Linked DNA regions of Homo sapiens: region 2 is linked to region 1. The links are contacts of gene promoters, found by promoter capture Hi-C in human tissues and cell types (Jung and others, 2019). All regions are on one chromosome and are shown on one strand. Each heading gives the region's core, a stretch centred on a gene start or on the middle of the fragment in contact. The rest is flanking DNA. Distances are from core to core; before and after follow the strand shown.

Region 1 (3,237 bases), core at 25-2,524:
GCCTATATAACTTTACACACCACAATTGTGGCAAAATTCATTTATTTGCCATTTATAAACGGGTCAGTAGTTTTCTTTAATACAGCTTACGTAATGTCATCGCCCAGTGCGTTTTCGGGTTTACACGTGTGGGTTAAAGAAATCTATGTCAAGATAACCTGTTCATCAAACTGTTTTTTAAACATTCAGAAAAAGAAACATAAACCACAAAACGCATATTTTTATTCTAAATTTACAGTCTACGTTCCAACGAACGACTGTCATTATCTTTTATCAAATAATCTGTCCAACAGCAAAAGCACAACAGCAAAATACGTGGAAAGCATTCAAAGCATACATTGTGCCTGCTTCTATTTTCCAATGCGGAATGTAGGCAATGAAACCGCTCCAGAGAAACACACTGTTGCGAGGAATAAAGGCGGGTGTGCAAGTGGCTCGACTGCCAGCTCAGAAAAGCTCGCCTCCGAGATGTCACCTGGCACACTTGGTGGAGTCACCGAGACCCAGCCTCAGGGTCCTACTGCAGCTTCCTCATTACGGAGAGAGCTGAGGCCTGGGGAAACGGGGGCTGCTCTTTCACGCGGGCCCCGCAGCCCTTCACTTTGTGTGAAAATTCCCTGCGAAGGCTGCACGGCCGGTCCCCTCGGGAGCAGCCCCTGCCCCTGCGCCTCGGACCGTCCGGCCCCGCCCACCTGCCCCGCGGCCCCCGCGAAAGCGCCGACTCCCGCGCAGCCCCCGGGTCCCACAGGCAGCTGTCCCTCCCCCTCCGCACCCCCCGGATCAGCACTTTGCTCCACTTTCCCCCAAAGTCGCCGAGCCCCGCCACGCCGGGGAGCGCCAGGAACGCACCAGGCGCCGAGCCGGCCGCAGAGAGGGCGCGCGACCCCGAGGGGTGCGCGGTGCGGGGCAGGGACGCTGGGAGGACGGCCCGGCCCGCGCCCCGCCGCCCGCCCCCGAGGCCCAGCCGCTCCCGGAGCCGGCCCCGCGCCCAGAGGCGCCAACAGCTCCCCCGCACAGAGCTCCGGCCGGGCCGCGGCGCAGTAGGCTCCTTTACCAGCAGGTGGATCTCCCGCAGCCCGGGGCCGCCAGCCCGGCCGCCGGCGCCGCCCCCAACTCCCGCGCCCTCCGCGCAGCCGCCCCGCGCCCCCTCCCGCCCCCGCGCGCCGCCGCTGCCGCCGCGAGCCCCTCACCCGCCGCTGGCGTCGCCGTGCTCCCGCGGCTGCCGGCGGAGCTGCTGTAGCCGCCGCCGCCGCTGCCGCCGCCGCTGCGGGCCGCCCCGCCCGCCCCGCCGGCTCCGCCCCCGCCGCTGGAGCGCCCGCCCCGCCCCGCCCCGCCGGGCCGCCCCGACCCCGCCAGCCATTGGCCGGCCCCGCGGGCCCCGCGCCCCGCGCCCCGCGCCCCACCAGTGGCCCGCGCGACTGTCACTTAGGGGCGCCGCCACGCAGCCTGCGGAGCGTTCGGGAGGCTGGCCCGGCTCATCGGTGTCACGGCGAGGTCCGGAGCGGAGCCGCGGTCTCGGGTCCCAGCTCTGGGCGCCGGCCTGCTCCCCGCCGCCCCGCTGCCACATCTGGCTGAGATCCTCCCGGCGCGTGCAGGGACCGCTCCGGCGGCCAACAAAGGCCCGGGCGAGCCCTCGGCCTGCGCCTCGGCGCGCGACCCGACCACCCGGGGCTGCCCCAGCTCCCAGGCGCCTGCCTGCCTCGACCCGGCCCCTTCCCAGCGGCGCGCCCCGCTCCGGGCCGCCCAAACTGGGCGGCCTCCCCGGGGACAGGTCCCGGGCCCAGCCCCACAGGAGCTCCCGAGGCCCCGCGGACGGTCGCGACAGCCCCAACTTCCCGGTGAGAACCCCGCGAATCGGCCAGAAGGGCTGATTTCAGCAACTGGGAAGGAGAAAAACAACTAGGGTTTCAACGCACATCGTTGGGTGCTAATGCCCCTGATTTTCCACTATGCCCCGTTTTCTTGAACCCCATGTCCTTATCTGTCGCCGTTTCACAAGGTTAGAGGTTAACTTCAAAGGCAAAAAACTGACTCGTTTGTAGAAAGCCTGGGTGGTCTGTCCCTGTTTTTCATAGTATCCATAGGACTTGTGCTAACAGTAACTACCCCTGGGTACGTCCTCTTTTGAATACTTAACTGTATAGCAGGCAACCGTATAGCAGGCATGGGTGTTAGATCGTTTATTGCATATCTCATGTTTTAAATTTATTCCCCATTTTTCATAAGAGGAAACTAGCTGAGAGGTGAAAGGGCTTGCCCAAGGTCACACAGCTGGTAATGGTTCAAAAACAAGGGATGTGTTAACTTTATTGCCGCAATAATCCTTACAGCAATCCTACCGAGTAACCTGTAAGGGAATTGAGGGGCCAAAGATCAAGGAGGCAGCCTTGTTCCTGCCAAACTCCCAAAGTAATAAGTAGATTCTTTTCAGAAAACAGTAATTTCAATAATCGAAAACTCTTAAGAGGCATCAATCAGAACAGGGTCCCCTCCCCACCTCCGATAAATTCCATTATTTTTATCTCAAGATAAGAATAATTAATAATCAGCTAGAACATGCATGGAGTTATCAGCCTTCCCATGTTGAGGTTTCTCCATGACGGCTAATTTAAAACTTCAGGAAGAGACACGTAACATCCCTGCTCCCATAGTCTCTTACTAGTTTAGGGGAACCATACCAAAAGATCTGTCCACTGCCCAGCACTGTGGACACAACTTGGGGGATCACAGCCATGATATCCAATGACAGCTCTTCCCTCTACTTTGAGTGTGTTTTCTCTCTACTTCCGGTTTGGCTGTGTCCCCACCCAAATATCATCTTGAATTGTAAATCCCACAATTCCTGTGTGGTGGGAGGAACCTGGTGGGAGGTAATTGAATCATGGGGGAGGGTCTTTCCCATGCTGTTCTCGTGATAGTGAATAAGTCTCACGAAATCTGATGGTTTTAAAAAAGGGAGTTTTGCTGCACAAACTCTCTTTGCCTGCCACCATCCATGTAAGAAGTGACTTGCTCCTCCTTGCCTTCCACCATGATTGTGAGGCCTCCCCTGCCATGTGGAACTGTAACTCCATTGAACCTCTTTTGTCCGTTGCCCAGTCTTGGGTATGTCTTTATCAGCAGCATGAAAACGGACGAATACATTGGGGACCTGAAAGCCAGGTTTCCTGTATTCTATGACAAAGCCATTGCCAAGTAGCAAGCTGGCAATTTGATTCATGACCAGATGTAAACAGA
Region 2 (3,501 bases), core at 646-3,145, 1.8 Mb after region 1:
TTAGCCAGGCGTGGTGGCGCGCACCTGTAATCCCAGCTATTCGGAAGCTGAGGCAGGAGAATCGCTTGAACCCAGGAGGTGGAAATTGCAGTGAGCCGAGATCACGCCATTGCACTCCAGCTTGGGCAACAAGAGTGAAACTCCATCTCAAAAAAAAGAAAGAAAAAAGAAAGCTTTCAGGACACCAGGCCATTTCCTGGGTCTGTTGTCTTAGGTCTGTTTGGTAAATATTCTGTGACTAAGCATGCGTAACCTTCTGGGAATACAACCCAGTAGGTCTCAGCCTCCTTTTCCCCATCCCCTATTCAGGATGGATTGGCTTTGGTTAGAATGCCTCTGACCGGATCATGTGGGGAAGAGCAACTGTAGAATAGCTGAGTCCTGGAAAACAGGCCTCAGGGAACAGCAAAGGCTGGGGATGAGGAAAGGACAAAACACCACCTGCTCTGTTGCTGTGCAGGACTGAGCAAGAAGCACAGGATCAAACTCAAAGTTAGTTCCAGTCCTGATTTTGGTGGTAAGACCCAAGGAAAATTCATTAACAAACATTGTGCTGCCAGATACATTAATAAATCCCTAAAAGGGCCTGTAATTCAGTTGAAATGAGTGAGAAAAATCTTAAGGATCCTTATAAATTAAATAAAAACTCCTTGCTCTCAAGCAATCATTTGATTCACTCTATATCAACGACTGTGCACTTTAGCATCACCTGAGGATCTTTAAGAAAGTATCTGTGCTAGGCCTCATTTCCAAGGATTTAATTTGTCTGGGGATGGAGCCCCAGGACATTCCTAGTTTTTGAGGGCTTCCAGGTGATTCTAATGCATAGCCACGGTTGGAAGCCCTGCGCCTATCTCACAGGTGTGTGGGTCTCTACTCTCTGTGTCCGCTTAGTTGCCAGGAGGCAGCAAGTTAGCCCACGTGTGCAAGATGCTTCCTTCCATACCAGGTAGGAATATTGCTCTCTTAAACTTGGAGTGTGCCTGGGCAGAAGCTCTGGAGCCCAATACCTGCATTTTACAAGTCAGATTGCTGCTTTTTGCTCAGTGCCTGTGTGCCTGCATACATGGGTCTCCTGATACTCAGGCACGGCAGATGACTTTCACCTTTGTTTTAGTGTTTTGCTCACTGCTGCATCTGCAGAGCCTAGAATGGTGCCTGGTACACAGCAGGCTCTCAATGTCTTATTAATGAGTTGCCTTTTCCAAGGCTGAAGTGATCGTGGGTGAATTCCAGAAGACCCTGCATCATTTTTATTTATTTATTTATTTAAGACGGAGTCTCGCTCTGTAACCCAGGCTGGAGTGCAGTGGAGAGATCTCAGCTCACTGCAAGCTCCGCCTCCCCCGTTCAAGCAATTCTTCTGCCTCAGCCTCCAGAGTAGCTGGGATTACAGGCAACCACCACTACGCCCGGCTAATTTTTTTGTATTTTTAGTAGAGACGGGGTTTCACCATGTTGGCCAGGCTGATCTCGAACTCCTGACCTCAAGTGATCCGCCCGCCTCGGCCTGGGATCACAGGCGTGTGCCACCGCGCCCGGCCTAGAGGCAATTTTCTATTTCTGACTTGTTAGGCTAGTCAGAGCGAGACGTCTTTACAGGTTTGGGCCGGCAGCTGGAAAAGGCACACGGCCCCGGGCTCCTCCTCCACCCAGCCCCACCCCTCCTCCGCTGAAGACCAGCCCTAATAAGGCAGCCACCAGAATTAGAACCAGGTCAAGTGCACTCCGAGCAGGACAGTAGGCAGATCCTATCTGGCGCATGCGAACGCTTCTGTGCCAGTTCCTTGAAGAGCAGGCGCAGACTCAAGGCTGTTGCTTCCGCCCTTACTCCCCGCCGCTCGTCCCTGGGCGGGGCGAAGGCTGGGCTGGGGGAAGAGGCGTGGCGGCGCTGTGCGCGTGCACAAAAGAGAGCTGAGGGGCGGGGGCGCTGCGGCACAGCTGGTTTGAGCAACTGAACTGGAAACAAGATGCAGGTGAGCTAGGACGGGTCTCGGGTCTGGGGGCTGCGGCCCGTTCCTTTGTCTCGTTAGGCCCGGGCGGGCAGTGGACGCCCGCCCTGGGGGAAGCTCCGGCGCCGCAGGCACGAGGGAGGCCCGGCGCGTCCAGGCCCTGCGCAGGCGCAGTGCGGGAGGCGGGCGTGGTCCCACCAGGACCCACGGCCTGGGCGTCCCCGCCTCGGTGTGCCGGGTCCCCCAAACCTCGTCCTCCGGGACTATGTCTTCTCGCGGTCTCTACCCACCCGGGCCTGTGAAGGTCTTGCCGGATCCCGCCTAACAAAAGTTACCTCCTCTCCTGAACTCCCCTAAGGCACACCTGGGCAGAGGTGTTAGGAAGCGGAGGGTCCGGCCTGGGGTCTTCCGCACGTAAAGCAGCGCCACAGCCGGTGTTCCTGGCTCCACTGAGAGCCAGGTGAGGGCTTAGTTACACCCTCTTCCCCCGAGCCCTGGGATCCGCTTGGGGCGTGTTCCCTATCTGACCGCTCGGGTTCCAGAGCTCCCCGCGAGGGTCCCTCTGTTTCGTCCTTTTTTTTTTTTTTATTAAAATAGGTAAAATAAATTATTTTTCTGTAGCTGCAATTTACTAGCGGAATTTGGTTAAAGCCTAAGGAGAATGAATGAAAACACCATGGAAATGGGCACTATTGTGGGTGAAAACCTATGCCAACTAAATTTTGTCACTGTCCAAAGATCCCGCAGTGGTCAGAAATTCTAATCTCTGCTTAGTGGCAGATGGAGAGGAGAGGGTGCGGGTTTTGCTGGGGAGGGAGGCATTAGGGGCTGGAGGGGAGGGCGTGTCTGCCAGGAGCCAGACACTGTTTTTTTTTTTTTTGAGACCGGGTCTTGCTCTGTTGCCCAGGCTGGAGTGCAGTGGCTCTGTCACAGCTCACTGCAACCTCGACCTCCCGGGGCTAAGCCATCCTCCCTTGTCAGCCTCCGGAGTAGCTGGGACCACAGGCGTGCACCCACCACTCTGGGCTAATTTTTTGTGCAGATGGGGTCTCCCTATGTTGCCCAGCCTCAGCCTCCCAAAGTGTTGGGATTACAGGATGAGCCACCGCACCTGGCCTAGACACTCTTAAATGGTGAAGTGGTAGCTTGAGGGCTGCCCTGGCCTCCTTTGCATTCCCTGTCCTTCAGGTCCCTTGAGGCCTTCCCTGACCACCCTGTAGAAAGGATTCTGCTCTTTTTGTTTGTTTGTTTGTTTGTTTCTTTTTGAGACAGAGTCTTGCTCTGTCGCCCAGGCTGGAGTGCAGTGGCGCGACCTCGGCTCACTGCAAGCTCCGCCTCTCCAGTTCACGCCATTCTCCTGCCTCAGCCTCCTGAGTAGCTGGGACTACAGGCGCCCGTCACCACTCCCGGGTAATTTTTTGTATTTTTAGTAGAGACAAGGTTTCACCATGTTAGCCAGAATTGTCTCGATCTCCTGACCTGGTGATCTGCCCGCCTAGGCCTTCCAAAGTGCTGGGATTATCGGCATGAGCCACCGCGCCCGGCCTCA

What was found. Contacts are between HindIII fragments. The study calls those that stand out against the background at their distance.
Region 2: a contact is called between the fragment with the promoter of PDCL3 here and the fragment with the promoter of MGAT4A in region 1, in 1 of the 25 tissues and cell types used here (mesenchymal stem cells).

Annotation. Positions count from the first base shown.
Region 1 is chr2:98,729,858-98,733,094 of GRCh38, forward strand. MGAT4A (alpha-1,3-mannosyl-glycoprotein 4-beta-N-acetylglucosaminyltransferase A) reads right to left here and starts at 1,275. Exons shown (of 16, transcript NM_012214.3): 1 at 1,191-1,275. LOC107985922 (a long non-coding RNA gene) reads left to right here and starts at 1,424. Exons shown (of 2, transcript XR_007087150.1): 1 at 1,424-1,838. RefSeq lists silencers at 1,283-1,612, 1,633-1,822, 1,929-2,223. The HindIII fragment of the contact is 6,529 bases long and covers 1-3,237 here.
Region 2 is chr2:100,561,098-100,564,598 of GRCh38, forward strand. It overlaps PDCL3 (phosducin like 3), which reads left to right and starts at 1,896. Exons shown (of 6, transcript NM_024065.5): 1 at 1,896-1,976. The coding sequence starts at 1,971. RefSeq lists an enhancer at 641-1,437 and a silencer at 1,883-2,222. The HindIII fragment of the contact is 15,730 bases long and covers 1-3,501 here.